Linked DNA regions of Homo sapiens: region 1 is linked to region 2. The links are contacts of gene promoters, found by promoter capture Hi-C in human tissues and cell types (Jung and others, 2019). All regions are on one chromosome and are shown on one strand. The core of a region is centred on a gene start or on the middle of the fragment in contact, and the rest is flanking DNA. Distances in the headings are between cores, read along the strand shown. Region 1 overlaps SPINT2 (serine peptidase inhibitor, Kunitz type 2). Region 2 holds the start of LGALS4 (galectin 4).

Region 1 (3,961 bases), core at 547-3,046, 540 kb before region 2:
CACATTACAGTGTGAGACAGAGAGAGAGCATGCGCGCGCGCGTGTGTGTGTGTGTGTGTGTGTGTTACGGCTGGCTGTTGGGGAAATCCTTATATCAGGTAGCTGCAGATATGCAGGATTTTTTTCTTTTCCTTTTCCCCACCCAGGTGGTAAATCCTGGTATTTGGAGGGTCCTGAAATGTGTAATGTTGCTCAACACCAGGCCAGATCATATATTTCCTCAGCAGAATAGAAACTTGAAAGGTCCTTTAGGAGTGGCCAGTTAGGTGTAGTTCTTGCTGCCAATAACTTTGTGCCTGGCCCTGGGCATCAGAACTTGTGTTAATGGTTACTTGGCTTAAGGTCTTTTGTTTTTGTTTTTGTTTGTTTTTGTTTTTTTGGGTTTTTTTTTGAGACGGAGTCTCTCTCATCGCCCAGTCTGGAGTGCAGTAGCGCGATCTCAGCTCACTGCAATCTCCACCTCCCGGGTTCACATCATTCTCCTGCTTCAGCCTCCTGAGTAGCTGGGACTACAGGCGCCCGCCACCACGCCCGGCTAATTTTTTGTATTTTTAGTAGAGACAGGGTCTCACCACCGTGTTAGCCAGGATGGTTCAAGGTCCTTTGTTGATTCTTCTTGGGAATTTCCACTGGAGGCAAGCAGGGCAACACTTATTTGAGAACCTCTCCTGCACCTTTTTTTTTTTTTTTTTTTTTTTGAGACAGAGTCTTGCTGTGTCACTCAGACTGGAGTGCAGTGGCGCCATCTTGGCTCATTGCAGCCTCTGCCTCCTGGGTTCAAGTGATTCTCCTGCCTCATCCGCCTGAGTAGCTGGGGTTACAGGTGTGCACCACCACACCCAGCTAATTTTTGTATTTTTAGTTGAGATGGGATTTCTTTTCTTTTTTTTTTTTTTTTTTTGAGACGGAGTGTCTCGCTCTGTCGCCCAGGCCGGAGTGCAGTGGCGCGTTCTCGGCTCACTGCAAGCTCCGCCTCCTGGGTTCACACCATTCTCCTGCCTCAGCCTCCCGAGTACTGGGACTACAGGCACCTGCCGCCACGCCCGGCTAATTTTTTGTATTTTTAGTAGAGACGGGGTTTCACCGTGTTAGCCAGGATGGTCTTGATCTCCTGACCTTGTGATCTGCCCGCCTCGGCCTCCCAAAGTGCTGGGATTACAGGCGTGAGCCACCGCGCCCGGCCTGAGATGGGATTTCAACATGTGGGCCAGGCTGGTCTCGAACTCCCGACCTCAGGTGATCTGCCCACCTCAGCCTCTCAAAGTGCTGGGATTACAGGCTCGAGCCACGTGGCCCAGCCCTCTCCTGCACTTCCAAGGGATTTTCGAAATGCATGGACCTCTCAGGTTAATTATAGTGTCTGTAGAACCTTAACTGCTGTAAGCTTTCCAGCAGACTCCACAGACGTGTTATTAGTTGCCACCCTTTCTTTACTTTCCTCCTCACCCCCATGGATAGTCGTGACCCTGGTGGTCAGAGATAAGATGACAGAAGAGCTAAAGTAAAGCTGGTGTTGGCGATCAGCTGGGAATTCTCTAAAACAGCTTCTCACATTATTCTTATCCTCCATAGAAGGAGTGCTTGTCCTACTTGCAGGCAAGGCAGTTTGGTTCCAGGGTAGTTCGAAATCTTATTCACTGATATAGTCAGCAAATGTTTATTGAGCACCCACCAATTGCCAGGCACTGACTCACTCAAATTAGAGCACTGAACAAAATAGACCCCCTCCCCCATCCGTGGCAGACGTGTCATAATGAGAGGAAGACAGTACAATAAATGAACAGATGAATGTATGTCTGGTGATGAGTGTCAGGGTTGGTGTGCTTAGCACTGAAAATGGGGGCTTCTGAGGTTCAAATGGTTGCAGTTCCTAAAGAAGGTTGAGGGCCTTGCCTTCAGGTCACCGCGGGAGACTGGCCCCTTTCCACTGGAAACATTGCTTTGCCCAGTCAGTATTTGAGAGCTCAGCCTGCAATGGAGAAATCACACTTCTCCTCTTTCACCCTGCTCCCCACCCTGTTTCTCATTTTACCCATCCCCAGCCATTTGCAGAATGCATGCAGAGCTTCTGTTTGCCATGTCTGGAGGCTACAGGGGAGGCTGAATAAGGGGTGATAAGCCTGTGGCTCATGTGAGGCGGGAGAGAGCCCAGCAGGAGTCACACTGAAATGACTCCATTAGCCCCAGGAGGCCTTGGCCCACCGGCCATGACTAATGTGGACATTAGAGTGTGGATTCCGATGTCCTGCAAGATCCTCCTCACAAGTGTCATTTCATGGTTTTTTTCTGGCAACATCTTTTTGAAAACTCCCTGTAAAGAAGTGCTGATGTTGATGCTGAGGCCCAGGAACTTTGGAGTTTATTTACCTTTTTTTGTTGTTTTATTTTCCTTGGCAGGTGAAGTAGGAGCTAGAGTTTACTTATTTTGAAGTTTATTTGAAATATGCTTTTTATGATTAGAAGCCATTTTAGAAATGAGGGCGAGGCCGGGCGCGGTGGCTCATGCCTGTAACCCCAGCACTTTGGGAGGCCGAGGCAGGCGGGTCACGAGATCAGGAGATCGAGACCATCCTGGCTAACACGGTGAAAACCCGTTTCTACTAAAAATACAAAAAAATTAGCCTCGCGTGGTGGCGGGCGCCTATAGTCCCAGCTATCTGGGAGGCTAAGGCAGGAGAATGGCGTGAACCCAGGAAGTGGAGCTTGCAGTGAGCTGAGATCATGCCACTGCACTCCAGCCTGGGCAACAGAGCAAGACTCTCTCAAAAAAAAAAAAAATGTTATGCTAAGTGAGAGGAGCCACTTACAAGAGACCACCACATGTTTGGCCGGGTACAGTGGCTCATGCCTGTAATCCCAGCACTTTGGGAGGCCGAGGTGGGTGGATCACGAGATCAGGAGTTCAAGACCAGCCTGGCCAAGATGTTGAAACCCCATCTCTACTAAAAATACAAAAAAAAATTAGCCGGGTGCAGTGGCAGGCGCCTGGAGGCTGAGGCAGGAGAATCGCTTGAACTCGGAGGGTGGAGGTTGCAGTGAGCCGAGATCACGCCACTGCAGTCCAGCCTGGGAGACAGAGTGAGACTCCATCTCAGAAAAAAAAGAGGGCAAGAATTCACATGTTGTTTTACTCACACGTGTTGGAGATGGAGCTCAGGGTGATTCCTGACTGGGCCCAGGGTCCATGGCCTCAGAAGTCCCTTAATCTGAAGTCCTTCACTTTTATGTGATACTGCTGGGCACAATGGCTCACGCTTGTAATCCCAGCACTTTGGGGGGCTGAGGCAGGTGGATTGCTTGACTGAGGAGTTTCAACATGGTGAAACAAAAAATACAAAAAACTAGTCAGCCTGTAGTCCCAGCTATGTGGGAGGCTGAGGTGGGAGAATTGCTTGAGCCCAGGAAGTGGAGGTTGCAGTGAGCCGAGATCGCACCATTGCACTCCAGCCTGGGCGACAGAGCGAGACCCCATCTCAAAACAATTTTATATGTGATAGTTTGTCCATGTGTATGCCAGGGTCTGTCATTTAGAGTGTATGGCATGTTCTTAAAGGGGTGGGGGAACAAAAAGATACTATAATAGTTTGTGACCTTTTGAAGGGCCGCTCTACATGAATAGATATATAGTATGTCTGTGGTGTTAAAATTTTGTGGGGCGATTAGGAAAAACATTTCCAAAAAGTCTTAGGGGGAAGGTAGTAATGAAAAAAGGTTGAGAAACACCATTCCAGAGAGAGGGTCCAAGAGCTTTCCTCAGTTCTGAAAATGGTCCATGATTTGCACAAGGTAAAGAATGGCTGAATGCGAATTAACAGCAGACAGTTTCTTAGAAGATTTGAAACTATTGTTTCCTTCCCAGCTATTCAGATGGACTGCTCGGGTTCTTGTTATGGATTGAGGCGAGGGTAGACTTAATAGTCTTGTTTCAGAGTGGAATATGGAGTGATGGTAGGCATGAGTA
Region 2 (3,804 bases), core at 1-2,500:
TCAACGTGTTAAGGCCCTTTTTAAAAAGCTAAGACTGGGCCAGGCGCAGTGGCTCACGCCTGTAATCCCAGCACTTTGGGAGGCCGAGATGGGAGGATCACTTGAGGTCAGGAGTTCGAGACCAGCCTGACCAACATGGTGAAACCCCATCTCTACTAAAAATACAAAAATTAGCCAGTGTGCTGGCACATGCCTGTAATCCCAGCTACTCAAGAGGCTGAGGCAGGAGAATCGCTTGAACCTGGGAGACAGAGGTTGCAGTGAGCCAAGATCATGCCATTGCACTCCAGCCTGGGCGACAAGAGCAAAACTCCATCTCAAAACAAAAAAAAAAACAAAAAAAACAAAAACAGAAAAGAAAAGAAAATGAAGCACAGAGAGGTATAGTCACTTTCACTCTTTCACCAACACAGAGCTGGGGAGTGGCAGAGCTGGGATTTTAACTCGGGGACCCGGCTCTGAGCCTGTGATCTGAATTCCTGCCATTGCACCCATCAGCTTCAGTCTAATGTCCAACTCAGGGACTGCCTCTCACGGTGAGCCCTCCCTGAACCTTCTGGCCCCCACGTCCCCACTCCTGATCTGCCCCAGATTCATCTCTGGCTATTGGGTGGGGCAGAAAAAGAGTCCCCTCTCCACCAGGGTGGGGTAAGGGCAGAAAGCCCCCAACAGCCAGGCCCAGAGCACCCAGTTGGAAGTCCCCTGCCAGCCCGGCCTGGCTTGGGGAGGGTCTTACCGCTTCATGTGCTCGCTGGCCACTCCTTGGATGTAAACAGACATTCCCACGTTGAGCCCGCCCGGGATGGGCTGGTAGTAAGGCAGCGTCTGGAGAAGAGGCCTGGTGAGGGGACTCACAAGCCATCTGCCTGTTGCAGCCTTTACCCCTCCCAGAAAAGCCCCCCAGTCCCTTAAGCAGGAGAGAGGAAACCATGGGGGAGGACCAGGTTGAAGATGACGAGGGCCAACAGTTAGACGTGGACACAGACAGCCTGAGGTCAGGGTAGGAGTAAATCGAGGGTCGGGGTCAGCTTTGGGTAAATCAGACCACAGAGTCAGATGGGGCCCCCCAGGATCAGAGTGGGGAAAATTGGTGTGAGGGCTTATGGACGGAGCTGCGGGCGGAGTGGGGCCTGAGCTGGCATCTCACCGGGTTGTAGGTGGGCTGGTAGCCCGGTGCGGGGACATAGGCCATCGCTCGAGGCTGCGCTAGTGGCTGGTCCTGTGAGAAGAGCTGCAGGAGTGGGAGATGGTGGCGGATGGCAGGCGGTGGTGGCTCTTATACCCAGGGTAAGGGAGTGGCTGGCAGGGGAGGGTCCACAGGGCTCCTCTTCTGGGACTCTCAGGCTGTCGGCTTCTCCTAGAGCGCACCCTAGTCTCCCTTCCCTTGCCAGCTTCCCTGGTGACCAGCCAGGACCCAAATCACCTGGGTCCCCTCCCCTACGCCCTCCTGCAAAGAGGAAGTGCTCATGAACTTCGGCCCTGCCAGGGCCTTATCAGAGCCCATAAAACCCTGCCCAGACTTCTGTTGGCAGAGGGAGGGTGAGACCAGGCAGGGCAGGGCAGGCTGCAGGAATGACCCAGGACAGGTGGGCAGCGGAGGAGGAGAACGCGGAGGAACTGCAAATTCCTGCCTCTCCCAGCAACTGTGAAGGGACCTACGTTGATTGCGTGCCCACCACACATCTTTACCACGTATGTTGTATTGTAGGGAGAGTGGTTTAGATTACTAGTGTGTGGAGCCAGAGGTTCTAGGTTCAAATCCTGCCTTTGCCACTTCTCAGCTGTATGATCATGGGTCAGTGCCTTACCCTCAATTTGCCCATGTGCTCATCTGTAAAATGGGGATATAGTAGTATCGGCTGGGTGCAGTGGCTCATGCCTGTAATCCCAGCACTTTGACTGGCCGAGGTGGATGGATCACCTGAGGGCAGGAGTTCGAGACCAGCCTGGCAAAATCCCAGTCTCTACTAAAAATACAAAAATTAGCCAGGCATGGTGGTGGGTGCCTATAATCCCATCTACTTGGAGGCTGAGGCAGGAGAATCACTTGAACCTGAGTGGAGGAGAGTGCAGTGAGCCAAGGTCACGCCACTGCACTCCAGCTTGGATGACAGATGGAGACTCTGTTTCAAAAAAAAAAAAAAAAAAAAAGGAATTCATAAGAGAGGAAACAAGTATTGAATAGCTATCAAAATATTTTAAAAATGAATTTGTGATCCAGTAATGCCTGTATGTTATTAATCTGCCAAATAAGTTCTAGCTGTGGGTCCAACTGCCACTCAGAAAAATAAATAAATAAAGAAAAGAGTAGTATCAACCTTAGGCTGGGTGTGGTGGCTTGTGCCTACAATCCCAGCAATTTGGGAAGCTGAAGCAGGAGGACTGCTTGAGCCCAGGAGTTCAAGACCAGCCTGGGCAACATAGTGAGACCCCCATCTCTACAAAAATAAAATAAAAATTAGCTGGGCATGGTAGCACACATCTGTATTCCTAGCTACTCAGAGGCTGAGGCAGGAGGATCGCTTGAACCCAGGAGTTAAGGTTACAGTGAGCTATGATCATGCCACTGCACTCCAGCCTGGGTGACAGACTAAGAGTCCGTCTCTAAAAATAGCAACAATAATAGTCATAATAATAATAATCATAATAGTATCAACTTCATAGAGTCCTTGATCATTAAGATAATAAATGCTCAGAACAGGACATAGCATATAGAAGTCATTAACTTAATGCTTGGTCTCTTGCAGTCATTCCAAACATAAATCCGGAAGATTGGGATGATATATGGATAAAAAATCCCAAAGTTTTGTTTGCTCATTTTTGAGACAGAGTCTTGCTCTATCACCCAGGCTGCAGTGCAGTGGCACCATCTCAGCTCACTGCAACCTCCACCTCCCAGGTTCAAGGGATTCTCCTGCCTCAGCCTTCTGAATAGCTGGGATTACAGGCTTACTCCACGCCTGGCTAATTTTTGTATTTTTAGTAGAGACCAGGTTTTGCCATGTTGGCCAGGCTGGTCTCAAACTCCTGACCTCAAGTGATCCACCTGCCTCAACCTCCCAAAGTGCTGGAATTACAGGCATGAGCCACTGCACCCGGCCAGAAACCCCAAAGTCCTTTTTTGTTTTGTTTTTTCTTTTTTTGAGACAGAGTCTCACTCTGTCACCCAGGCTGGACTGCAGCAGCATGATCTCAGCTCACTGCAAACTCACCTCCTGGGTTCAAGGATTCTCCTGCCTCAGCCTCCCGAGTAGCTGGGACTAGAGGCACCTGCCACCACACCTAGCTAATTTTTGTATTTTTAGTAGAGACTGGGTTTCAACATGTTGACTAGGCTGGTTGCAAACTCCTGAGCTCAGGCAATCCACCTGCGTCAGCCTCCAAAAGTGCTGGGATTACAGGTGTGAGACGCCAGCATCAGATCCCATGTGCTGTGCAGTGAGAGGTGCCAGGCAGGGCACGAACGCCACCCTCAACCCCAGGGCAGGCAGGGAGACCAGGAAGCCTTGCAACCCAGAGGGACCCCAGCGACTTTTGCTCACTCCCTCCGCCCCGGAATTCCTTGTGCCCCTCGCCTGCCCGCTGCCAGTCTGAATGGCCATCACCTCCATGCCACCCATTCCCATGCATCCAACCTCTAGCCCCAGCCTTCAGGACTGCAGTCTCTGGAGCCCCTAGGTGCATCCCAGCCCCTCCCACCTCTCCTCTATCCAAGAAGGGCACCAGGTTCTTTACTTTGCTTTATTGTTTGTGGGGTGAAGATAAGGCCTTGGGCTTGAGAAACTCATTGTCATAAAGTTATAA

What was found. Contacts are between HindIII fragments. The study calls those that stand out against the background at their distance.
Region 1: a fragment that was not itself captured here is called in contact with the fragment with the promoter of LGALS4 in region 2 in 1 of the 25 tissues and cell types used here (pancreas).

What each region holds. Positions count from the first base shown.
Region 1 is chr19:38,268,726-38,272,686 of GRCh38, forward strand. All of the region lies in intron 1 of SPINT2 (serine peptidase inhibitor, Kunitz type 2), which reads left to right. Among named protein-coding and RNA genes, the nearest start is that of SPINT2, 6.1 kb to the left of the region's middle. The HindIII fragment of the contact is 5,415 bases long and covers 1-3,961 here.
Region 2 is chr19:38,811,695-38,815,498 of GRCh38, forward strand. LGALS4 (galectin 4) reads right to left here and starts at 1,251. Exons shown (of 10, transcript NM_006149.4): 1 at 1,148-1,251; 2 at 737-825. The coding sequence starts at 1,192. It overlaps ECH1 (enoyl-CoA hydratase 1), which reads right to left. Exons shown (of 10, transcript NM_001398.3): 10 at 3,728-3,804. The HindIII fragment of the contact is 29,723 bases long and covers 1-3,804 here.